5 separate regions of the Homo sapiens genome follow, and regions 1, 3, 4 and 5 are each linked to region 2. The links are contacts of gene promoters, found by promoter capture Hi-C in human tissues and cell types (Jung and others, 2019). All regions are on one chromosome and are shown on one strand. Each heading gives the region's core, a stretch centred on a gene start or on the middle of the fragment in contact. The rest is flanking DNA. Distances are from core to core; before and after follow the strand shown. Region 1 holds the start of SEC14L3 (SEC14 like lipid binding 3). Region 2 holds the start of NIPSNAP1 (nipsnap homolog 1). Region 3 holds the start of OSM (oncostatin M). Region 4 overlaps HORMAD2 (HORMA domain containing 2). Region 5 overlaps HORMAD2 (HORMA domain containing 2).

Region 1 (5,143 bases), core at 1,468-3,967, 890 kb after region 2:
GACCCCATCCAAAAAAAAAAAAAAAAAGCAGATACTGCTGCTTCTGTACTGTGTGTCCTTGAGCAAGTGACACCACCTCTCTGAGCTCCATTCTACCTACTTTTTTTGTAAAATGGTTTGGATAACCCCTCACTCTTGGGACTGTTGGGGAAAGTCCCTGAGATAAAGTTGGCAAAGCAGAGTGCCCAGATCCGGGTACATGCCCTACAAGTGAAGACGTGACCATTACTCTACTAAGATGCCAGTGGTGGCACTGTCCTCATCAGTGCCTTGATGGGCTAAACTTCTTTCCCACCCAGACAGGATGCTTTAGGCAATGCCTTAGGGGGCAGGGGTGCAGAAGCACAGGCTAACCGTGGTGGTTACGAGCCTGGGTTTGGGGGCCCAAACAGGCCTGAGCATAAATCCCAGCCCTACCTTGGGCTATGGGACTGTGGGCAAGTTACCTAATTTTTGCTGGGCTTCAGTGTCCTCATCCACAAAATGGGGACAATAGCATCCATCATTGTGATGATTAAAGAAGCTCATGCTGCTAACATCTTAACCTAGGCCTGGACCTTGCAAGCCCCCAGGAAACATTCATTATGACTGTAGGAAAGGAGACTGCAGGCCTGCGGGTTCCACAGGCCTCTCAGGCTTGCTGCCCCTCATTCATGGTCCCCAGTGACCTTGAGTGGTACGTCCGTGAAAGACTGAGGTGTTTGGCGGTGTTGGCTCACCTCTGGGGGCTGCCAATCAAGGATATGGTCAATATCCATGGTCTTCCGGAACTCCATGTACTGAAAGGGAAATGAGTGGTAAGATCCCACTGGGCTCCCAGTGCCCTGAGAACAGGGATGGAAGGAGGGGCTTGAGGCATGGATTGCCCCTGACAAATCCCCTCCATAAATTTCCAGAGTGGATAGGTCTCACCTTGCGGAGCAAAGCCTCCGACTTCTGCAAGTCAAAATTCCGAGCTGTGGGAAAACAGAAGGAAGGTGTGAGACAGGAAAGATGCCTTGTCTTACTCCTGGCCAGTGGGAGCTATGGAGGACACTGGGGGCCTGGGTGAGACCTTGCTCCCCTACCCCCTTCCCTCCTCTGGACCTGAACATGTGAAGCAAGATTGTGTGGATGGACCCTGAGAGCCATGAGACACTCTGGAGCAGTTGAGACCAGGCCCCTCTTGATGCCCCCTGATCCCAACCTCTCCCACCTCTGCCCTCACCTCGGAGCCAGCGTAGAAGGAAATAATCATCAGGGTTGGGCAGGGCAGGAAGCACATCCTGGACGTTTTCTCGGAACTGGCAAGAGAGATGCTGGTTAAAGTGGCTCTCTCACATTGAGCCTTGGCCTCCAGACTCAAAGACTGTTTTCACAACCTCTCCTTTCCTCCCACATGCAAAATGGCCCACATTGATGAAAGGATGGGTTAATGGTTGAATAGAAGGGCAGATGGATCACTGGATAGGTGGATGAATGGAAGGAGGATAGATGGATGAATAAATGGTTAGAAAGAAGAATAGATGGGTGAGTGGGTAGGTAGATGGAAAAAGGGAGAAGAAATCAATGGATGAATGGATAGATGGATGGATGGAGAGTGGGTGGGTGGATAAATCAGTGAATGGACAGAGGAGAGATGGGTGGGTGATTGAGAGAAAGAAAGATGGATAGGTGGCTGCGTGGGTAGGAAGAGGGATGGGTGGATGAAAGAAAGGATAAACAGCCAGGTATGGTGGCTCACGCCTGTCATCCCAGCACTTTAGGAGGCTGAGGTTGGTGGATCACCTGAGGTCAGGAGTTTGAGACCAGCCTGGCCAACATGGTGAAAACTCATCTCTACTAAAAATACAAAAATTAGCCAGGTGTGGTGGCACATGCCTGTAATCCCAGCTACTCAGGAGGCTGAGGCAGGAGAATTGCTTGAACCTGGGAGACAGAGGCTGCAGTGAGCTGAGATCGCTCCACAGCACTCCAGCCTGGATGACAGAGACTCCATCTCAAAAAAAAGAAGAAAAAGAAGAAGAAAGGATAAATAATTGGGTGGATGAATAAGTGGATTGGAGTTTGGATGCATTCTTAGTTCCCTCCATGTGTTAGCCCTCAAAACATCTGCTTTTTTTCATCCCATCTTCTATTAAAACATGGTTAATAATTATATGTCCTCTTCTTCCTTTAGCTCTTTGAAAGACAACACTTTCTGCTCTGTCTCTTGGGCTTTTACAGACTGGTCATCTTTCAGGATCCCAAAGAGGAAGGGGTTAAAGGGCAGACCAGCAGCATCTTTCAGCTCCTACCTATGGTGCCTGGGAGGGAGGAACGGGGGTACCTGGCTGCCAGGTAAACCTCTCTGGTTCTGGCTCCTGGATGAGAAGAAGTCAGGCTTGACTTGGGTGGGCACCACCCACGTTATTGCCTGGAAGTGGTGCTAGTCCCTCAACCCCCGCCCGGGACAGGGTTGATGTTACTGGGCACCGTGGGGCTTGACCCTTTGGGAGGTAACACCAAAGAGACAATGTCAAGGACATGCTGAATCAACTGAGTGGGGCAGGATTCCAGCCACTTCTTTCCACCCCCCAGCCCCTTTCCCCTGGTCTTCCGGAACTCCAGGGGGAGGGGCTCTCACCTTGGCCAGGGTCTCTGCCTGTTTGGGGCTCAGGTCTCCAACTCGGCCGCTCATGGTGCTGGCTGGGGCTTGAGGAGTGGTGGCCACTATAGGCAAGAGGCCAAGCCTAGTTTGTCAGCCCTGACCCAGCTGGGTCCTTTTGCCCCCACTCCTGGGCGTGGCTCCAAGCGCCTCCTCATGGGCCAACTGTTTAAATTGCAGATTACATAATTGGGATTAAGTGAGGTCCCCTGCTTGGCTTGGGGACAGATCTGGAGGGGCAGGCGGGCATGGAGCGTGTGCCAGAGGTCCCCTGCCAGGAGGAGGCAGCTGGGAGGAAGGGAGGCTGGCCTCCCGTGACCTTGGAGCCCAGAGTGAGTGCCTGTAGAACCCGCTGACCCTCCCAGGCCTCCAGTGACCACTGCCCTGGAGAAGGGGGAGTTTCAGGAGAATGAGGACCGCTCCTTGTGGGTACCCTTTCTCCCTGAGCCCCAGTCTTCCCACACTTAGGATTCTGCAAAGATCACCCCCCTCTACCCAGCTCTGAAAGGGTAGGATTCTGAGGCTTGGTCAGTGTAGTAAACAGTTCATTCACTTTGTTGGGGGTGGGAGGCCCAGGTCCTTCTTTTGTGTCCACAGTCAAGAAGAGGACAGATGGCATCTTTTGAACGTCACTTGCTTCATTTATAAAATGGGGCCGTTAATGTTTGCCTTCCCCTCCTTATGTGGTTAGAGGGAAGATCTAATGAGACATAGGGACTGTCAAGGGTTGTGTGCATCTGAGGGATACTCTCCTTCAGCTCTCCTGGTCCCCCCTGGAGCTGTAAGCTTCAGCTCCAGGAAGGGAGAGACCCTGTTATCCATGACTCTCTCTGAAGAAACCATCAGCTTGAGGCTGCAGCATGGCCACATGGCCACATGGCCACATCTCAGCCTTGAGGGGGTCTGCATGGGCTGAAACCAACCCCGGGCTAGCCTCGGCCCCAGCAGCTGGGCTAGCCCACACCATTCTGCCTAGGGCTTTTCTAGGTCCCCTACTCCTGGGGCATCCTGGGTACCCACCCCTGAGCTACAGTGGGCCTCTATTCTGGGCTAACCCAGGGTCTCTTTAGGCTAGTAGATGTTGGTCAGTATCAGACATCTTCTCAGGGACATCTTCCTTGCTCTGGGCTCCTCACAGAGTTGGATCCAGAAGGAGAAGGCAGGGCTAATGCTGGCCATTTCCCTCTGCCTGGGGAGCCCGTGGCATGTACTCAGGAACAGTTAGGTAACTCTCCACACCCCAGCCCTGCCCCATTTCACATTCCAGCCTCAATTTCTGCAAAGCCCCAGCTGCTGTCTACACCCACTTCCTGCCAGGCCAGTAATGTACAGAGATTGGGTTCCTCCACTGCCCTTTCCCGAGCCACTAATCCTGCCCATTTCTCACCAGTCTCCTTTCTCACCCTAATCCCTATAATGTGAGGTGTGCTAGTTACTTCTAGGGGCATCGGAGACTGTGAAGGAGAGCCAGGAGGGAGGGTTGGGGGTCTCCTCAGGAGTTGTGAGCCTTCACACTGAGCTCTTTTCCTGACCCAGACCACAGATTTGTCAAGTACCTTGCTATGTTCACAAATCCTCATCAGCTACAGTGCCACTCCACAGAACTTCCTGTGATGGTAGACATCTTCTGTCTGGGGTGTCCTGTTAGACATATCTGGTAGCCACTAGTTACATGTGAAAGATGGTTAGCGTGACTGAGGAACTGAAGTTTTAATTGAATTGGATTTTGATACATTTTACTTTAAATTGTTCAATCTGGCTAGTGGTTACCATATTGGATGGTGCAGGTGGCCCATTTTTATTTTATTCTACTTTATTTTATTTTATTTTTGAGACAGGGTCTCACTCTGTTGCCCAGGCTGGAGTGCAGTGGCATGATCTCGGCTCACTACAGCCTCGACCTCCCCAGGCTCAATCAATCCTCCCCACCTCAACCCCCCGGAGTAGCCTGGACTGCAGGCACATTCCACCACGCCCTGCTAATTTCTTATATTTTTTGTAGAGATGGGGTCTCATTACATGCATTACCTCATTTTGGCCTGGTGAGGTGGCTCACACGTGTAAACCCAGCACTTTGGGAGGCCGAGGCAGGTGGATCACCTGAGGTCAGGAGTTCCAGACCAGCCTAGCCAACATGGCAAAACCGTGTCTGCTAAAAATACAAAAATTAGCCGGGCGTGATGGCGGATGCCTGTAATCCCAGTTACTCAGGAGGCTGAGGCAGGAGAATGGCCCGAACCTGGGAGGCGGAGGTTGCAGTGAGCCGAGATCATGCCACTGCACTCCAGCTTGGGGGACAGAGTGAGACTCCATCTCAAAAAAGAAAAAAGCAGTGCATTACCTCATTTAAACCTCAGAACATACCTGTGGTGTTGGGTAGGTACTATTACGCCCATTATGCAGATAAGCAAACTGAGGTATGGAGAAGTAACTTATCCAGGGGTAAACCCATGCAATTAACCACTCTGCCATTGTGCTGTTATGCTATCCCATAGTCTTGGCTCTAGGAGCTTCCAC
Region 2 (4,980 bases), core at 1,455-3,954:
CAATCCTCCCACCTTGGCCTACCGAAGTGTTGGGATTACAGGCGTGAGCAATGGTGCCTGGCCCAGGTCCATCTGATTTCAAAGCCCACACTCCATCCCCACCCCAGCAGCCTCATTGCCCCCAAACCTCACAGGCCAGAAGGGCTGCTGCTGGCCCTACTAGTGACTCTGGAGAGATATGGGGCAGCCTGAGGGGCAGCAGGACAGAGTGTTCTCAGGTATCCAATGTGGAATTAAGGTATAAGTAACTGCAAGACAGTCCTTGAGGGACTTGATAAACATTAATTCAAGTGGCTTCATAGCAATCCTGCCGAAAACACCAACATCCCCACTTTACAGAAAAGGAAACTGAGGCTGACGGAGGTTCAGCAACTCATCCAGGGTCACTGAGTGAGGGGCAGCAGGCTGACTCTGAGACCCATGCTCCTTTTACAGCCTCTGGGTGTTTGCCACACAAATGGTTTTACCACCAATCCATTCTGTCCCTTCCCCAATCTTGATATTTTTATCTGGAAAACAAAGGGCTCATAAAAGATGATCTTCCCAGAGCCCTTTGAGCCTCAACATTATGTGGGTCACATGCAGAAATTGCTTGAAACATAGGCTAGGGGTTAAGGAGCAACACTTACTGCATGTTCGTCAAGTGCTAGACACTTCACAACCACGGAATCTTTTTTTTTTGTAGACGGAGTCTCGCTCTGTCACCCGGGTTGGAGTGCAGTAGCGTGATCTCGGCTCACTGCAACCTCTGTCTCCCGGGTTCAATTGATTCTCCTGCCTCAGCTTCCTAGTAGCTGGGATTACAGGGGTGAGCCATCACACCCAGCTAATTGTATTTTTAGTAGAGACACGTTTTCACCAACATGGTGAAATTTTTGTACTTTTTTTTTTTTTTTTTTTTTTTTGAGACAGAGTCTCACTCTTGTCGCCCAGGCTGGAGTGCAGTGGCAGGATCTCGGCTCACTGCAAGCTCCGCCTCCTGGGTTCACGCCATTCTCCTGCCTCAGCCTCCTGAGTAGCTGGGACTACAGGCGCCTGCCACCGCGCCCAGCTAATTTTTTGTATTTTTAGTAGAGATGGGGTTTCACCGTGTTAGCCAGGATGGTCTCGATCTCCTGACCTCGTGATCCACCGCCTCGGCCTCCCAAAGTGCTGGGATTACAGGCGTGAGCCACCGCGCCCGGCCATTTTTGTACTTTTTATAGAGACAGGATCTCGCCGTGTTGCCAAGCTGGTCTTGAACTGCTGACCTCAAGTGATCTGCCTGCCTCGGCCTCCCAAAGTGCTGGGATTACAGGCATGAGCCACCATACCCGACCAACCACAGCATCTTTAATCCTCAACAACCCTATGAGATACATCCTGATTACTCCCATTTTACAGATGAGGAACCCGAGGCTTAAAGAGTCCTGAGGTCACCCCACCTACAAAGTCTGAGTTAGATCTGTTAGTGCCAGGCAAACTCTAGGCTTTTCCCACGGTGTCAGCTTTATCCCTAATTATTGGGCAGTCTAGGTGGGGCGCTTATGCCACTCCTCTTTCCCAGCTGTCCAAAAGCCCCACTGCTCTGTGCTGTAACATCTCATGGCAGGCACTATCAGAACTTTGCAGCTTCATTCCTGGGCTGCAGGGCAGGAGGGATGGTTGCTTCCTTTTCACAGGTTGGGGGAGGGGGAACAGGTGGCCTCACTTCTTTGGTAAATATTCCTTGACCATACACAGTCCTGAGCCCTCTGAGGGTGGGAGGCTGGGGAAACAGAGAAAAATGAGATCATGGTCTAGTGAGAGAGACAGACAAGCACCAAGTCATAACTGTGCAGGGTCATATATGCAGAGATGGGGGAAGTACAGGGCTGTGGGGACCAAGGAGTGAGGGGCTGCCCAGGGCCAGTCAGGGAGGCCAAGCCCTAGCTCAGCCCAGAGCAGGGCCCAAACAAAAGCCCAGGCTGAGAGCACATGGCCCAGCCAGACTCCCACTCCCAGGAGGCCACCAGTTGGGTGCAAAGTGCATGGCGCATTGGCAGGCCTGGGTCCCAGACCTGGTGCTGCCACGGCACAGCAGGGAGGGTGACCTTGGACAACTCCCATTCCCTCTCAGGTCCGTTTCCCCACCTGTACAGTTCGAGGTGGAGGAACAAAGGGTCTGTGCAGCCATGGCCCCTGGGGATCCCCCACTGCTCCCCTGCCATCATCTCTTTCCCACAGAACTTCCCGACGGAGGAGCTGACTACCAGAAGCCCCCAGTGGGTGTTAAATCACAAGCTACGCCTGGGAATGGGCCACTCCTCCTGTCTTCTGCCCTCTCCCACTCTCCAGGGCCCAGTACCTGCCCTTCTCACCATCTTTCATCAGGTCCCCATCACAGCCCGGTCCCAACCAGGACAAAGACCCTACCCATCCCTTTCTCACCTCCCCCATTCTTTGCCCAGACCCCTCCCTAGGCCTTGATCCTGCCCCGCCTCTAACCCCCAGATTCCAAGCGAGGAGTCTCAGCCCCTCCCCCACGACCCAGTCCCTGGCCCCCGCGCCTGCACCCCACCCCGCGCGCGTCTATCCCTGCCTGGCCGGGCTCTCACCGCGCCGCAGCTGCAGACGCAACGTCCCCAGCGCGAGGCCCCGGGCCCCCCAGCAGCCGCCGCGCCGTCACAGAGATGCTGCACAGCCGCGGAGCCATGTTGGAGCCGCAAAGGTTGCAGGAAGGCCCCGCCCCCAAGCCCTGGTGGCGGAGGCGGGGCGCGAATAAACTCCACCCCTCCGGCTCGCCCGCCCCCTCACTCACCCGGTCAGGTGGGCGTTTCCTGTGGGCGTCTCCAACTCCGCAGGTGCTGGACGGAAGTCAGGGTTCTAATCCTCTGCGCGCTCTGCGACCTTGGCAAGCCCTTTGCCCACTCTGGGCCTCAGGATCCACCTCGGTAAAATGGGAGCGTGGAACAATAATACCAAGGGTTCTTTTTTTTTTTTTTTTTTTTTTTGAGACGGAGTCTCGCTCTGTCGCCCAGGCTGGAGCGCAGTGGCGCGATCTCGGCCCACTGCAAGCTCCGCCTCCTGGGTTCACGCCATTCTCCTGCCTCAGCCTCCCGAGTAGCTGGAACTACAGGCGTCTGCCACCACGCCCAGCTAATTTTTTGTATTTTTAGTAGAAACGGGGTTTCACCGTGTTAGCCAGGATGGTCTCGATCTCCTGACCTCGTGATCTGCCTGCCTCGTGCTCCCAAAGTGCTGGGATTACAGGCGTGAGCCACCATGCCCAGCCTACCAAGGGTTCTTAACAAGGCTGTCCGGGATGTGCAGCAGAGGGTCAGTGTAACCACCCCATGGGTTCATTTTGCCCGTTTCCCAGACAGCGGATTTATCAAGACAGAGGAATTGCAATAAGAGTTTAATTCATGCAGAGCCGGCTGAATGGGAGACCGGAGTTTTATTATTACTCAAATCAGTCTCCCTGAAAATTCGGAGACTGGGTTTTATTAAGGATAATTTGGTGGGTAGGGGCCAGAGAGTGGAGAGTGCTGATTGGTCAGGTCGGAGATGCAATCATAGGGAGTGGAAGCCGTCCTCTTGTGCTGAGTGGATCTCTGGGTGGGGGCCACAAAACCGGATGATCCGGTTTCTTAATCTGTGTATCGCCAGCGGATCCATTGAGTGCAGGATCGGAAAAATATCTTGAGCACCAATCTTAGGTTTTACAGTAGTGATGTTATCCCTAGGAGCAACTGGGGAGGTTTAGAATCTGTGGCCACTACCTGCATGACTCCTAAACCGTAATTTCTAATCTCGTGGCTAATTTGTTAGTCTTACAAAAGCAGTCTGGTCCCCAGGCAAGAAAGGGGTTTATTTTGGGAGAGGGCTGTTATCTTTGTTTCAAAGTTGAACTATAAATTTGCTGCCGGGCATGGTGGCTCATGCCTGTAATCCCAGCATTTTGGGAGGCAAAGGTGGATCAGAAGTTTAGGTCAAGAGTTCAAGACCAGCCTGGCCAACAGGGTGAAACCCCGTCTCTACTAAAAATACAAAAAAATTAGCCAGGCATGGTGGCGGGCACCTGTAATCCCAGTTACTCGGGAGGCTGAGGCAGGAGAATCTCTTGAACCCTGGAGGCAGAGGTTGCAGTGAGCCGAGATCGCGCCACTGCACTCCAGCCTGGGCAACAAGAGCGAAACTCCGTCTCAAAAAACAAACAAAAAGACTGTAAGTTTGGCCTATGCCCAGGAATGAATATGGACAGTTTGGGGGTTAGAAGCAAAATGGAGTCGGTTAGGTCAGATCACTTTCACTGTCATAATTTTCTCACTGTTAAAATTTCTGCAAAGGGGTTGCATCAGTAAGCCCCCTGAAATTGTATACAACGTTACGTGCTCCTCTGTGGTGCATTCTCTGGGGAAAGGCATTCACATGCCAGGTTTATCACCATCAAAGAAACAAACTTCCTTACAAGTGAAGACAGGGGCAAGGCTGTCAGCTGCAGACACTTTATCTCCACCATCTCCTTTCCCCTTTTCATCCCCCTTTGACTTCTCTGCCTGAAAATCCTGGGGCCTCTTTCTGCCCTGCCCAGCTCTTTTGCCCGCCCTCTAAACTAATCCCTTCTCAGCCCACAATCCCCCAGATCACAGACATTGGCAGGGGTGGAGAGCCTGCAGACCCCACAGGGGGCAGGGGCTCTATCCACTTCCAAAGGGGCAGGGACAGCTCCCCAAAAGAATGTCCACCCACTGACTAGTGGTTGCCTCCTGTTATGCTTGGCATGGGGGGAGTGGAGGCCAGGCCATGATTGCACCACTGCGCTCCAGCCTGGGCAACAGAGCAAGACCCAGTCTCTATAAAAAAATAATAATAATTTTAAGATTAGGACCACGTGTGGTGGCTCATGCCTGTAATCCCAGCACTTTGGGAGGCCAAGGCAGGAGGATCTATGAAAATTCAAAAAATTAGCTGAGCATGGTAGCACACACCTGTAGTCCCAGCTACTCAGGAGGCTGA
Region 3 (5,058 bases), core at 303-2,802, 690 kb after region 2:
GTGCCCAGGTGTGCCCACCAAGGCCACCATCATCTCCCCAGTAAGTCACTGCCCAGGGCCTGACACAGCAAGCAGTGGGAGGGACTGAGACAGTGGCTGCGATTTACCAAGTAGGTCTTTGAGCAAAGGCTGCAGTGCCTGGCCGGATCCCAGTCCTGCCTACAGCACGGTTCTAACCTCGGGAGCTGACTCTCTGCAAGGTGGGACTGGCTCCCTGCAAGACCACTGGGCTAAAGACCGGCCACTGCCCTAGGACCTGCCTTGTCAGCTGCTCTGGCCATCCAGGTAGATGGGCCTGAGAGGGCTTCAGGGCAGGCAGCCCGGGAGCAGCTTGTGTCCTCAGCTCTGTCTAGAACCAGGAGAGGCTGCCTTTTCAACCAGAGGTGCAGCCTGGAACAGATGTGGAAGACCTTCCAGTCCATGTCCCCACTTTCCTGACAGGTAAACCAAGTCTCAGGAGAAGGTCCTACTCAGGTCACACAAGGCCAGGGCTCTCCCCTGACCTCTCTTGCCTCCCTCCTCTCTCCATAAGTGGCTCCTTCTGTCAGGCCCACCAGGGATGCTGTGAGCCTGTCAGAAGGTGTTGGGGGCGGGTACAGTTACCGCTCACCACCACCCCCAACGGGGCACCGGCAGCCACGTGGTCGGAAGGGGCCTATGGCGCAATGGCCCGGAAGGCAGTGACACCATCGTTCCCGTCCTAAGAACCATCCGGCCCTTTGGGGAAGACTGGCTGTTGGGGAGGGCCAAGGGGCCAGGCACCCAGGCTTAGCGACCCCACGGCACCCTCGCCGCCTCCCCAGGTATCTGCTGCCGGGCTCTGGCAGGGGCCTGTGCCTGTGGCAGCGCACGTGGGACTGGGGTTTCTGTGTGGCTGTGCATCTGGGTCTGTGTGCGGCGTGAGGGAGACCTGTTCCGTTCACCATGGGGACTCTGGTCTGCATGTGGGGGTTCCTGGGCTGGTGAGATCCAGGGCTGTAGATGACGTCATATGGCTGTGTGCGCATGTGGCCATGTGGGTGTGGCTGTGCATGCTGTGTGATTGTGTGGGCCCTGGGGCCCCCAGGCCTGGCTGACTTTCTATTCATCCCGGGCAAGCTGGAGGCCCCACAACCCCTCCACACCTCACACCACTTCCCTGCCCAGCTTCTGAGCCTCCCTCTCCTGCCCAGCCTCTTTGCCCATCCTATTCTCTCACCCCCTGGTTCCCAGAGTTGCCTCTACATCTTGACATCACCTCCCCCTGGAAGCCTTCCAGGGATGCCCCTTCTCTACCTGTGGAGATGCCAGGTTCTCAGTGGACCACTCTCTCTGCCTGACCTCCTGGCTCTCTCCCCTTCTCAGCATCCTTCTGCCTGGCGCCTGGCCTCCCCAGTTCCCGGAGGGCAGAGGGTGCCTCTGCTCCCCACCGGCACCCGTGGGCAGACCCAGCAGGCGGGTTCTGGCGGGGAGGAAGGAAGTACTTACTGAGCAGCGTCCTCTGTGTGAGCAGTACCCCCATGCTGGGTGCCCGTGCTCCGGCCCGCGCCCGCTGGGGGTGACACCTCTCGGCTGGGAGCCCTGCAGGCTGGCAGCCACTTTATGCCCGCTGGGGCGATTGGCCAACACCTCATGAGGTGGGTGGGGATGGGGAGGGGGGAGGGCAGGCCTTCTGGGAACATGACCCCAAAAACCAAAATTTCCACGGGCGGCCAATGGGCGCAGGGCGCGGTGTATGCCCGCTCCTCCTCCTGTTTTCTTCGAATTCGTTCTTCGAGGTCAGCCCTACGCCCAAGGATGATGTAAAACCGCAGCCTCAGCCTTCCTAGGGTGAGTGGGGAGGAAAAGGGTCCATGCCATCTTCAGGGAACTGGGCCAGGGATGGGCAGGAGGGACTTCGAGCTGGGCCTCTGGAGGCCCCAGGCCAGTCTTGGCCCAGGAGCCATTGGCCTCACAGGACACGGTGGTTGGGGGCTGAGGGGAGCGAGACATCTTCCTTCTTGAGTGCCCTTCCTGCCCTCTCGCCGGGGCTGTTGGGACATCTGTGAGCGGAAACCACCGGGCTCTGGGCACAGAGCCAGACGCAGGCTGGCAGCCCCGAGATTGTGGTTCAGGCCCCAGGACCAGCATCCCCCAGCCCGGCTCCCGACGGTCTCCTTTCCCCCATCGTGCACCCTCTGCCAGGCCCACTCCCCAAAGCCAGGCCTTGTCTTTGTAGGCAGGCTCCACTGGGGAGAACTGGACACTTGGAGCAAGAGAAACAGGAGGCCAGGGTTCAAGCCTGCTGAGGTGCTGTGTGACCTGAGGCAAGTCACTTAACCTCTCTGGGCCTCAGAGACCCACAACTATAAAATGAGGAGGAGAAAAGCCTTTCCCAGCCCACCTCACAGGGTTGCTGCCAGCATGGACATAAAAGGAAAAGACCTCTGAAGGAAAAAGCAAAGATGAAGGTCTGATTCCAAGTATTAGCTGTCGAGGGGGCGGGATGGGGGAAGGAGGAGATGGGGAAGCTGTGAGCTCAGAGGGGAAGCCGGGGAGGGGGAGTTGCCGCCTTGACAGTTGGGGACCAGGTTTCACTTTCTCTGAAAGATAGCGATCTTAGGTTGGTCCTCTGCGAAAGGGCCCTGGGAACAGCGCCTCCCTAGTCAAACTGCTACTTTACTGTGGGGTAAACTGAGGCCTGGGTGAAGGCAGACAGGGAGGCCAAGAGGCTGGCCCAGGCCTATAGACCCTGCCTGGTCAGCACATCTCCCAGGCCCAGAGGAGGGTCCTTGGCCTGCACCCTAAGAAGCCCGGGTGGGAGGAGGCCCTCAGGAGTCTGGGGAGTCAGGGTGGGACTCCTGGAGGCTGCCAGGGAGGCCTGAGCTGCTCCAGCTGGAGGGAGCATGGGGTCTGGGGCGCCTGAGCAAGGAGAGCTGGGGCAGCCAGAAAGGAGGAGGTTGGATGCACCCCTGTCCATGCCTGCTCCCGATGCCCACTGTGGCCACCAAGGCAGTTGCCACCCATTCTCCCCATCACTCATTTATTCATTCGACAAACCTTTATTTGGCTCCATGCTGCACCAGCCACTCCCAGGTCTGAGGATCACGTAGTAGGCAAAAATAGGCGACCCCACGCCCAGGAGGCTGCTCTTCAGCCCCTACCCACTCCCCGGCACCCAGGCTGGGACTCACCACACCAGGCCTCATACCTCCCCCTCACCACCCCCAGGGGCCAGTTCTGGATTCTCATCCTGAGAATGTCGCTTCCGCTGAAGTCCTCATCTCTGTGCCCACCCCCACAATGCTGTTTCCTGGGGCCATGCCAAGAGGGGATCCTTCTCCATTTCACATCCCTGATCTCGTCTTTTTTTCTCTTTTTTTAAATGCAGGATCTTGCTCTGTCACCCAGGCTGGAGTGCAGTGGCGCCATTGTAGGTAGCTCACTGTGGCCTCCAGCTCCTAAGCTGAAGCAAGGCTCCCCGCCTTAGTCTCCTGAGTAGCTGAGACCACAGGCATGCATCACTATGCCCAGCTAATTTTTTTATTTTTTGTAGAGACGGGGTGTCACTATGTTGCCCAGGCTGATAACAAACTCCTGGGTTCAAATGATCCTCCTGCCTTGGCCTCCCAAAGTGCTGGGATTGCAAGCGTGAGCCACAGCACCCAGCCACCGATCTCATCCTGCAACAGCCAGGGGAGAGAAGCCGCTGGGCAGTGACACCTCAGCTCACTTCAGTGAGGAGCTCGAAGCTCTGGGAAGTTTAGGGGCTGGCTCAAGGAAGGAGCGCCAGATCTGAGCAGAGGGGTCTAGGCCATTTTCAGCTGTGGCTGACCGACCACCACGCTTGGTGAGAAACAGCCACATGCCTTTATCTTATTCTATCTATCCTGTGGTCCAGGGAGGCCGTGCTGTCTCCTCATGGCAGAGAGAGGAGGTTGCTTTGTCTGAGGTCACCTATGAATAGTTAAGAGGAGAGGGGCATTTGGCCAGGCATGGTGGCTCACGCCTGTAATCCCAGCACTTTGGGAGGCCGAGGCAGGAGGGTCATTTGAGCCCAGGACTTCGAGACTGTGTCTTTACAGAAAATGTAAAAATAAATTATCCAGACATCGTAGTGCATACCTGAAGTCCCAGCTACTAGGGAGGTTGAGGCAGGAGGATCGCTCGAGCCCCGAAGGTTGAGGCTGCAGTGAGCCATTATCATGCCACAGGACTCCAGCCTGGGTGACAGAGCAAGGCCCTGTTTAAAAAAAACAAAAAACAAAAAACCCACCAAGAAAAGAAGGCATTCAAACGAGGCCCAAAGACCATACTCTTTGCACATAGTTAATGAGGGTGTCAGGCACAGGGCCCAGGGCTCAGAGTCACTGAAGGTAAGGAGAGCAGGTAGATTACATTGCTAGGACTCCCATAACAAAGTACCACAGACTGGGGGGCTTACGTAACAGAGATTTATTTTCTCACAGTTCTAGAGGCTGAAGTCTGAAATCAAGGGCTGGTTCCCAAGGCCTCTCTCCTTGACTTGTAGATGACTGTCTCTCCCCGTATCTCCACATCATGTTCCTTCTGCTTGTCCGTGGCCTAATCGATTTTTTTTTTTTTTTGAGACAGAGTCTAGCTCCGTCACCCAGGCTGGAGTGCAGTGGCACGATCTCAGCTCACTACAACCTCTGCCACCTGGGTTCAAGCGCTTCTCCTGCCTTAGCCTCCTGAGTAGCTGGGATTACAGGCGTGTGCCACCACGCCAGGCTAATTTTTGTATTTTTAGTAGAGACAGGGTTTCGCCATGTTGTCCAGGCTGATCTCGAACTCCTAACCTCAGGTGATCCACCTGCCTCAGCCTCCCAAAGTGCTGGGATTACAGGAGCGAGCCACCGCGCTTGGCCTTATCTCTTCTTATGAGGACACCATTCACATTGGATTAGGGCCCACTCACATTTTACCTTAATTATTCCTTTTTTTTTTCTTTTTCGAGACAAAGTCTTGCTGTGTTGCCCAGGCTTAAGTGTACAGTGGTGCTTTCATAGCTCACTGCAGCCTTGAACTCCCGGCCTTAAGCGAGCCTCCTGCCTCAGCCTCCAGAGTAGCTGGGATTAC
Region 4 (4,620 bases), core at 252-2,751, 580 kb after region 2:
TGATCCACAGCTCACTGCAGCTTTGACTTCCTGGGCTCCCGCGATCCTCCCACCCCAGGCTTCCAAGGAGCTGGAACCACAAGCGCACGCCACCGCTCTTGGCTGATTTTTGTATTTTTGGTAGAGATGGGGTTTCACCATGTTGCCCAGGTTGATCTCAAACTCCTGAGCTCAAGCAATCTGCACACCTCGGCCTCCAAAAGTTCTGGTATTACAGGCATGAGCCACTGCGCCTGCCCCTGTAGTGGTAAAACTTTAGTCACAAAAAATCAATTTCACATCTCATTTTAAAATTCTTTTATATGAACTACTGTCATGTTTTTCAAATTGGTGGACATCTGTAGCTTCACTGAATTAGAATGATGCCAGTGAAATGAGAGACAATGCGGAAAAATTAGAAAAGTTCTCCTAAAATAAGGCGGAGAGTTTCAACTCTTAATCATTGAATTTTGAAAGCCCTCAGAATAAAAATGTACCATATGCCCTGCCATAATACTGTTTCACTCTGCTCTCTGGCCCAGCTAGATTCGAACTAGCCCTACATTTCTAAGTAAATAGTGCTTAATTTGAAACTGAGAAGCCCTACCACATCACGGAAAATCTTTATAGGTTGGAAAATATGTATATTATGTCATGCTTTAGGTATATAATCTAGCCATATTCTGTAATAGATTTGCTGCAGTTTATACTCAACAACCTTGAGTTTTTAAGAAAACATATTTGTATATTCCAAATGTTTGGTTTATCTTTCATAGGAAATATTAGCCAAAAGGGATACCCTGTATTTCAGGTAAAAACTTAGTGATAGGGAAATTTAAAAAGTGTTAGTCAAAAATCGAATGTTTGCCCTATCAGGGTTGCCATGCATGACTGTGCTGATTGTGTACTGCATAATTCCAGGGATACCTAAAACACAGACAGAAATGTGAATGACACCCCTGGGGTTGAGCAACGCCTGGCAGCCCTGATTTTAAGTAAATAGTAAAGCTTTTGAAAATGCTCATTTTTTTTTTCTGATTCACTACTGAAGACCAGTTGTGAGCTGCAGGAGGGCTTTTATTATTTTTCCTATTTTTTTGTGTATATGCAAGGTCCTTAGTTTTTTCCTCTCCATGTTGTTTCCAAAAGACTTCCTTACTGACTGAGCTTCAGCACACTGCTCTGGCATTCTCCCAGCTCTAAGTTTTCATGAGTCAGGGAAAATGTGTGCACTCTGAAAAGAAGCTTGTCAGACATGCTCAGCCAGCTGACATGAAGTCCCTCTCTCCATTCTTCTTTTCCATCCACATTCTTACAGCCTACTGCTTGTACCTTTATTTAGCCCTGACTTCATCCTACCTGTGTTGGATGTTAGTTAGAGTTTGTTGTTTACATATCTGTGTTCCTTACTACCTTGAACTCTACTGCCCATCCCTGCTGTCCTGCTGCCACTGTGCCCTGCCCTTATCACCACCATAGCACTTAGCATGGTGCCTTGAATCTTCTGCTTGTCTGACCCTCCTCTTTTACCTTTCCATTCTTTGGTTTTCTTTCATTTTCTTTAGTCAGGAGGAAAATATGTATTCTCTAGATGGGGAGAATAACTGGAGGAATGGGAAGAAAGCTCACCTCCGTAAAAGACCAAGAGTGGCCCTGCAGTTAGTTCTGTTACTTGGTCACAACCCTCCATTTCCTCATTTACTCTTACTGTGGCCAGGCCTGGCCCAGATTTAATAAAACAACTTGAAGAGGGTGATATCATGAATTTTATTCCAGTTTTAAGTTTTTAGTGATGCAGTTGATTTTGAAATGACAACAGTACAGATGGTTTTTGCAAGGATGTAAAAGAAACTAGTAACAGTGATTGTCTTTTAGAAGGGGACTTGAATGGTTCTGGGATAGCAGGGAAAGTTTCACTATATACCTTTATATTACCTTTTGAATTGCATATTATGTAAATGTATTAGCTATTGAAATAGATACATAAAACTAACAAAAATGGAAGCAATTAAATAACTATAGTTGAACTAAATTGATGCTGTAGAAAATTCTGTTAATTACAACAAAGTGTTTGAATATATTTTTTCAAAGCTAGATCAGGAAGAGGAGAGGTATGATTATTCTCATTTTGTGTTAGAAATTTTGAAAATGTTTCATCATTTCCTGCATAAATAATATGAAAATTAAGTTTAGGTGCATGCTCCTTATATAAAACTTATCCTCACTCTGAACACTCAACTACTTCACTTTAGGGGTTTTCTATTTCTCTTCAATTGAATTTAGGGCCAATTTAAAGTGAAAATCTGACTTCTTAGTGACTGTATCTTGCAACTCTGCCTCTGCCTTGTGTGGAGGAACTTTACTGGGGAGGCCAGAGTTCCTAAGTGTTATCTACTTTGGTCTCTCCTTCCTGCCAGCAAGAGTAGGCAGTTATGACCTGAGGTTTAGATATTGCACCAATAGAGATCTTCCATCTTAGACAATTTTCATACCAAAGTGGTCTTTTTCTGATATTTTATAGGACCTATCTCTATAGTCATTTCTGTACTTACAGTTATGCTATGTTCCTCTCAACACCTGCTAAAGCACTTATAGAGGCTCATGTTCAAGCAAATGACCTACATAGCAAGTCTGTGAGAAGCAGGGTATTGCATTTCCAATTCTGTATCTATTATCTGTTCATCTCTTTTTTGAAGAATCAGCAAATGTATGTCAAACTTTAGTACATCTAATGACACCATCATGTCATTGCCTGTAAATTTCCTCTATTCATGCCACAAACCAAGAAACAACTTTTTCATTTTTATAATTACTTCAAGTATGTGCTTGAGCGTGTTTATGTATTTAATGTATCCACCTTTAACTACCACGGAATTCATAATTATTTACTCAGGCATTTGAAAGTAAGAAAGTAACTGACATTTTTCTATTGAAAAGTATTTAATAATATTTTAGAATATTTTATAATTTTTAAAAGCCTAATAAACATTATTTTTTTAAATGTTCTTTTTTACCTTTGCAAATAAAGCAAGATTGCAAATAAAAAGATTTTTACACTAACATTTTTTATCACTTTGAAATAAAGGGGATAAAAGAGATTAAAGTAATAAAAATGTTGATTATTATAACCGTGTCAAGTAATAGAAAACACAATTTAAACAATAAACACACTGATATGAAACTTCATATTTTTAAGTTTAATTATATTTAATACAATTTACACATGAATACATTCTCATAGATAGTTCAAAAACTGCCAATAAGGATATTCCATGCCTTTTCCTTTGCATTTAAAATACACACACAGGGTGGGCATGGTGGCTCACATCTGTAGTCCCAGCACTTTGGGAGGCTGGGGTGGGCCGATAACTTTAGCCCAGCAGTTTGAGACCAGCGTGGGCAACATGGTGAAAACCCGTCTCTACCAAAAATACAAAAATTAGCTGGGCGTGGTGATGTGTGCCTGTAGTCCCAGGTACTCAGGAGGCTGAGGTGGGAGGATTACCTGAGATGGGGAGGTCAAGGTTGCAGTAAGCCATGGATGGCACCACTGCACCCCAGCCTAGGTGACAGAGTGAGACCCCGTCTCAAAATACACACACACACACACACACACACACACACACGATATGTTGTTTAATACAGCAGCCACTAGCCACATGTGGCTATTGAGTACTTGAAATGTGGCTAGTTTGAATTGAAATGTAGGTATAAAATATACGCTGGATTGTGAGGACGTACTACAAAAAAAGAACGTAAAATATCTCCATCATTTTAATATTCACATATTAAAATGATAGTTTTTAATATATTGGGTTAAATTAAATGTTAAATTTTAATTTCATCGTTTCTTCTTACTTTTTAAAATATGGTTCAAATTTAAAATTATTTGGTGTGTAATTGTGTCTTGCATTCTATTTCTATTAGGCAGTACTGTATATAGGTATATACATGCAAACATTTGATTTGTGGACATCTTTTTTTTTTTTTTTTTTTGAGACAGAGTCTTGCTCTGTCGCCCAGGCTGGAGTGCAGTGGCGCAATCTCGGCTCACTGCAACCTCTGCCTCCCAGGTTCAAGCAATTCTCCTGCCTCAGCCTCTAGAGTAGCTGGGATTACAGGCACCCACCATCATGCCTGGCTAATTTTGGTATTTTTGTAGAGACAGGGTTTTACCTTGTTGGCCAGGCTGGTCTTGAACTCCTGACCTCAAGTGATCCACCCGCCTCAGCCTCCCAAAGTGTTGGGATTACAGGCGTGAGCCACCACGCCTGGCGATTTGTGGACATCTTAAAATCACAAATGCAATAATATTGTCCTTTTTTTAAACTTACTTTTTTCACTTAACATACGTCTTACAGATTTTTCCCTATTAGTATACTTAAATGAACCTCATTCTTTTTAACTGTGGCATAGTAATCCTTAGTATTAAAGTGTTCTAGGTTTATTTCAAGTTTTTTATATTGATGAACATTTAAGTTTTTACTTTTTCTTAGGAACATTGCTTCAGGAATGTCCTTGAACATGACTCTTTGTGCATATATGGGAGCATTTCTCTAGGATAGACACCTAGGGGGCCAGAAGATATTTGAAGTTTTTGATTATCTGGATATAGTCCTGTTCAAAGATTGTATTACCTCA
Region 5 (4,783 bases), core at 1,539-4,038, 540 kb after region 2:
TTGACAAGGAGCCTATCAACGTGCAAGTGGGATTTGTCTCCACTGGCTTTCATAGCATGAAAGTAAAAGTCATGACAGAGGCTACAAAAGTGATTGATTTGGAGAACAATCTGTTTCGGGAGAACAGCACTACTGAGATCGCCCATCAGGGTCTAGACTGTGATGAGGAAGAAGAATGCAATGACCATGTAAGGCAAAGCTTTAGAGATTTTCTATCGTGTCAGTTAAACACAATTGATATTTTTCAGTTTCTACCCAGGGCATGCACGTGGAGTGTGCCAGCTATAAAAACTGAAACAAAACTAGTCTCTGACATCAAGGAGTTTTTAATCTAAAAAAGTTTAATCTTCTAAAAGGAAATATACTTTATCAGATGAAATTGTCCATAACTAGGAGGAAAAAGATTTTCTAATATATTTATTTTATTAAAGATATCATAAATTTAGAAAATTTGAGGTTTTCTTTCCTTTATTTGTAAATGACATAATTTTAGGGTTGAAAAATATTCTAGGTATTTATTCATACTCATTGGAAGTATAAATCAGTTCTTGATACTGAGATAATTGGATGGGAGGAGTTGGGGAAGATAAATTTTATGGATAAACCCGAGTCAGCGTGAAAACAAATAATAGTTAACTTCTGGTTATGTGGAGGAAGACAAGCTTTGGGGCTAACTCACTGGGGAAAGTCAGGGGGTTGGTGGGGTTGGAGCTAGTGGAGCCAAACAGTCAGGTCTCTGATCCCTTTATCCTCCCATTTCCACCAATAGAGACTTGGAGTTAGATTCTTGCTAGGGTCCCATTATGCCCTAGGTAACTCCACACCCTTAACTGGTGGTTGTCTGGATAATAATGTTAACTGTATGACAACATTGTGTTAAAAGGGTTCTGAGTTAGACAAAAAATTTTCAGTAGGAAGGGATGCTATAAGATCTTTTCAGGAGATATTTTAAGATTAGAATGATAACTTGTTTGCTTAAGATAATTTGAGTCTTATTTAAAGATAGGTGACTGTACTAGGTAACTTCTGAAGGTTCCTTCTAGTTCTTTAACTCTGTATTATGTTTAATACATTGAAAAGAGGTTCTAGTTGTTCTAGTTTTAATTCAATTAATGTAAATAATATAACCAAACAAGTAACAGATTGTTTTTAAATTTTTAGTGCTTTCTCGATGTTAGACATAAAAATGACTTTGGATTTTGGTGCAATTTTCCTCTTCCAATTTCACCCAAGGAAGATATAGCTAACATAGAAAGGGGAAAAAAAATGAAGGTTAAGAAAAGAATGTTTCAGCTAGTTTTTTTTGTTGTTGTTCTTGTTGTTTTTGAGACAGGGTCTCGCTCTGTTGCCCAGGCTGAAGTACAGTGGTGCAACCATGACTCACTGGTGCCTCAGCTTGCCAAGGAATCCTCCTACCTCAGCCTCTCGAGTAGCTGGGACTATAGGCACATGCCACCACACCTGGCTAATTTTTTATTTTTTAATTTTTTGTAGAGACAAGGGTCTCACTGTTACCAGGGCTGGTCTTAAACTCCTGGGCTCAAGCAATCCTTTCACTTTGACCTCCCAAAGTGCTGGGATTACAGGTATGAGACACCACACTGGGCCTCAGCTAGGTATTTATTTATTTATTTATTTATTTATTTATTTATTTAGGGAAAGAGTCTTGCTCTGTTGTCCAGGCTTGAGTGCTGGAGTGCAGTAGTTGATCACAGCTCACTGCAGCCTTGACCTTCTGGGCCCAAGTAATCCTTTCAGCTCAGCCTCCAGTGTAGCTGAAACCATAGGTGTGCGCCACCACACCCAGCTTATTTTTTATTTTTTTTAGAGACAGGGTCTCCCTATGTTGTCCAGGCTGATCTTGAACTCCTGGGCTCCAGTGATCCTCCTGCCTTGGCCTCTCAAAGTGCTAGGATTACACCACACCTGGTTAGATTTTTACCTTTTAATTAAGAATTTCTTTCTTTTTTTTTTTTAATCAAATGAAAGCAGGACAACCTAAGAACGCATAGTTCAACTAATAGATTAAATAAGAAATGTGATAATCCTTCTCAAGCATACATTTAGTTGAAACTATATGTATTATATGGACTTTGTGGTAAACTTAGTTGATTGAAGTTTCTCTCTCAGCCAGCCAAACATATGAGAGAATTTAGTAAGTCTAGTAAAGTGGTTACTGTCACTTTCCCACTAAGGATTCCTTTTTGTTTTCCTTCATGGAATACATGGAACACACACACACACACACACACACACACACACACACATACATACATGTGTATACATATGTAGAATCTTTATTTCTTTTAAAAATTTTATTTTGAGATATACATATAATAGACTACATAAAAATATGTACAGTTTAAAGAATAATGAGAACATCCATATGTCCTCCATTTAGGCTAAGATGTAGAACATTGCTACTCCCTTAGAAGCCACCACGTGTCCCTTCCTCATTGCACGCCCTCTGAAGGTAACCACTCTCCTGACCTTCATGATAACCTTTCCTTGCTCTTCTTTATAGTTTTGCCATGGATGAGTACATCTACTCGTTTTAAATTTGTATATCAAAGTAATCATACTCTGAGTATTCTCCTTTAATTTTCTTTTGCTTGAACTTCAAAGTTGAGATTTAGCCATTGTGTTATTGTTCTTTCATTTTCACTGCTGTAGAGTTTTCTACTCTTGATAGACATTCTTTTTAATTGCTATAAACATTCATGTACATACCTCCTGGTACACCTGTCAAAGAGTGTCTCTTGGGAATATATGAAACAGTTCTAGGCTTGTGTATTTTCAACTATATTAGGTAAAGCAAAACTGTTTTCCAAAGTGGTCGTACCAACTTACTCGCTACCCCCAGTGAAGGAGAGTACCCTACATTCTTGCCAACACTTATTGTCAGGGTTTATGTTTCCTGCCAGTCTGCTAGATATGAAATGGTAATGCCTCATGATGTTAATTTGAATTTCTCTGATTATTTGTGTGTTTGTGCATCTTTTCTTTGGCCATCCTATTTTGCTCATATTAAATAGCTGTTCATGTCTTTCATGCATTTGTCTCTCAGGTTATTTATCTTTTCCTCAATGGTTTAAAAAATATGTGCTTAGTAATAATTCTTTTTCACTCATTTATGTTGCAATATTTTTTTCATGTTTGTGGCTCATCTTTTCACTTTCTTTTTCTTTTCTTTTTTTTTTTTTTTTTTTTTTTTTTGAGACAGAGTTTCCTCTTGTTGCCCAGCAGGCCTGAGTGCAATGGCACAATCTCAGCTCACGGTAACCTTCTTTCTCCTGGGTTCAAGTGATTCTCCCGCCTCAGCCTCCTGAGTAGCTGGGATTACAGGCATGTGCCACCACACCCAGCTAATTTTGTATTTTTAGTAGAGACAGGGTTTCTCCATGTTGGTCAGGGTGGTCTTGAACTCCCGACCTCAGGTGATCCGTCCGCCTCAGCCTCCCAAAGTGCTGGGATTACAGGCATGAGCCACTGTGCCTGGCTCATCTTTCACTTTCTTTAAGAGGTCTTTTGAGCAATGTAAGTTTTTAATTTTAATATAGTCTAATCTTTTCCTTTAATATGTGCTTTTGGATATCCTTAAGAAATCCTCTACCTAAGGTCATTAATAATATTCTCATATTTTATTCTAAAAGTTTTAATGCTTTTCTTTTTACATTTAGGTTTATAATCCACTTAAAGTTTATTTTCATTTATGGAGTGAAATAGACCAGACTTTCTTAACACTTTTAAATTCAAGAATAATAAACATACAGTAAAACATATGTATCAGTGATACAGCTCAATAAATATTCACAAACTGAACACTAGAGCTGGGATGAGGGTGATGCAAGCAAGGTGCCTAGGGAGCATATTTTAAGGAAGATCTCAGGTGCCAAGAGTAAGGACCTCCTTACATTTTGCCCCCTGGACATCTTGCTTGCTTTGTCTTTGTCACAACCCTACTGAATAAATATGTGAAATCAGCACTCAGATCAAGAAATAGAATTCTTCCAGACCCTGAGAAACCCCCAGTCTTATTTTACAGTCACTATTCTGCTCACAAGAATATTGCTATCCTGACTTCTATTCGCATAGATTAGTTTCTCCTCTTTATTTTATAGACATGGAATCATAGAGTATGGACTTTTTTTTTTTGAGACGGAGTCTCCCACTGTCTCCCAGGCTGGAGTGCAGTGGTGCGATCTCTGCTTTGCTCACTGCAAGTTCCGCCTCCTGGGTTCACGCCATTCTCCTGTCTCAGCCTCTCAAGTAGCTGGGACTACAGGCGCCCGCCACCACACCGCCTAATTTTTTGTATTTTTGGTAGAGATGGGGTTTCACCGTGTTAGCCAGGATGGTCTTGATCTCCTGACCTCTTGATCAGCCCGCCTCGGCCTGCCAAAGTGCTGGGATTACAGGTGTGAGCCACCACGCAGGGCCGAGTATGGACCATTTTTTCAGTTAACATTATGTTGTGAGATTTACCCATATTTTTACATGTTGTTGTAGACCATCCTGACAATTTATTCATTCTATTGTTAATGACAATTTATTCATTCTAATGTTAATTTGGATAATTTATAATTTTTGTCTATGATGGATAGAAATGCTTTGAATATTCTGGAACATGTTTTTTAGGGAAATAACTACACATTTCTGGTGGGAATAGAATTACTAGGAGTAGAATTGCTGGGTCAAAGGGTATGTGTATATTTAGTTTTAACAGATAGTGCAAAATAGTTTCCAAAGTATTTGTGCCAATTTACAATCCCACCAGCAATGT

The links. Contacts are between HindIII fragments. The study calls those that stand out against the background at their distance.
Region 1: the fragment with the promoter of SEC14L3 here is called in contact with the fragment with the promoter of NIPSNAP1 in region 2 in 4 of the 25 tissues and cell types used here (aorta, hippocampus, mesenchymal stem cells and 1 more).
Region 3: the fragment with the promoter of OSM here is called in contact with the fragment with the promoter of NIPSNAP1 in region 2 in 6 of the 25 tissues and cell types used here (IMR-90 fibroblasts, adrenal gland, dorsolateral prefrontal cortex and 3 more).
Region 4: a contact is called between a fragment that was not itself captured here and the fragment with the promoter of NIPSNAP1 in region 2, in 1 of the 25 tissues and cell types used here (bladder).
Region 5: a fragment that was not itself captured here is called in contact with the fragment with the promoter of NIPSNAP1 in region 2 in 3 of the 25 tissues and cell types used here (dorsolateral prefrontal cortex, mesenchymal stem cells and spleen).

The regions. Positions count from the first base shown.
Region 1 is chr22:30,469,300-30,474,442 of GRCh38, forward strand. SEC14L3 (SEC14 like lipid binding 3) reads right to left here and starts at 2,718. Exons shown (of 12, transcript NM_174975.5): 1 at 2,606-2,718; 2 at 1,208-1,283; 3 at 913-956; 4 at 720-779. The coding sequence starts at 2,659. The HindIII fragment of the contact is 19,065 bases long and covers 1-4,926 here.
Region 2 is chr22:29,578,409-29,583,388 of GRCh38, forward strand. NIPSNAP1 (nipsnap homolog 1) reads right to left here and starts at 2,705. Exons shown (of 10, transcript NM_003634.4): 1 at 2,577-2,705. The coding sequence starts at 2,674. RefSeq lists an enhancer at 1,866-2,478 and a silencer at 2,462-2,511. The HindIII fragment of the contact is 21,243 bases long and covers 1-4,980 here.
Region 3 is chr22:30,265,299-30,270,356 of GRCh38, forward strand. OSM (oncostatin M) reads right to left here and starts at 1,553. Exons shown (of 3, transcript NM_020530.6): 1 at 1,468-1,553. The coding sequence starts at 1,501. RefSeq lists enhancers at 717-796, 857-956. The HindIII fragment of the contact is 14,267 bases long and covers 1-5,058 here.
Region 4 is chr22:30,158,746-30,163,365 of GRCh38, forward strand. The region is part of intron 10 of HORMAD2 (HORMA domain containing 2); the gene reads left to right. Among named protein-coding and RNA genes, the nearest start is that of LIF-AS1, 78 kb to the right of the region's middle. The HindIII fragment of the contact is 4,795 bases long and covers 1-3,899 here.
Region 5 is chr22:30,122,027-30,126,809 of GRCh38, forward strand. It overlaps HORMAD2 (HORMA domain containing 2), which reads left to right. Exons shown (of 11, transcript NM_152510.4): 10 at 1-188. Among named protein-coding and RNA genes, the nearest start is that of HORMAD2, 44 kb to the left of the region's middle. The HindIII fragment of the contact is 8,876 bases long and covers 1-4,783 here.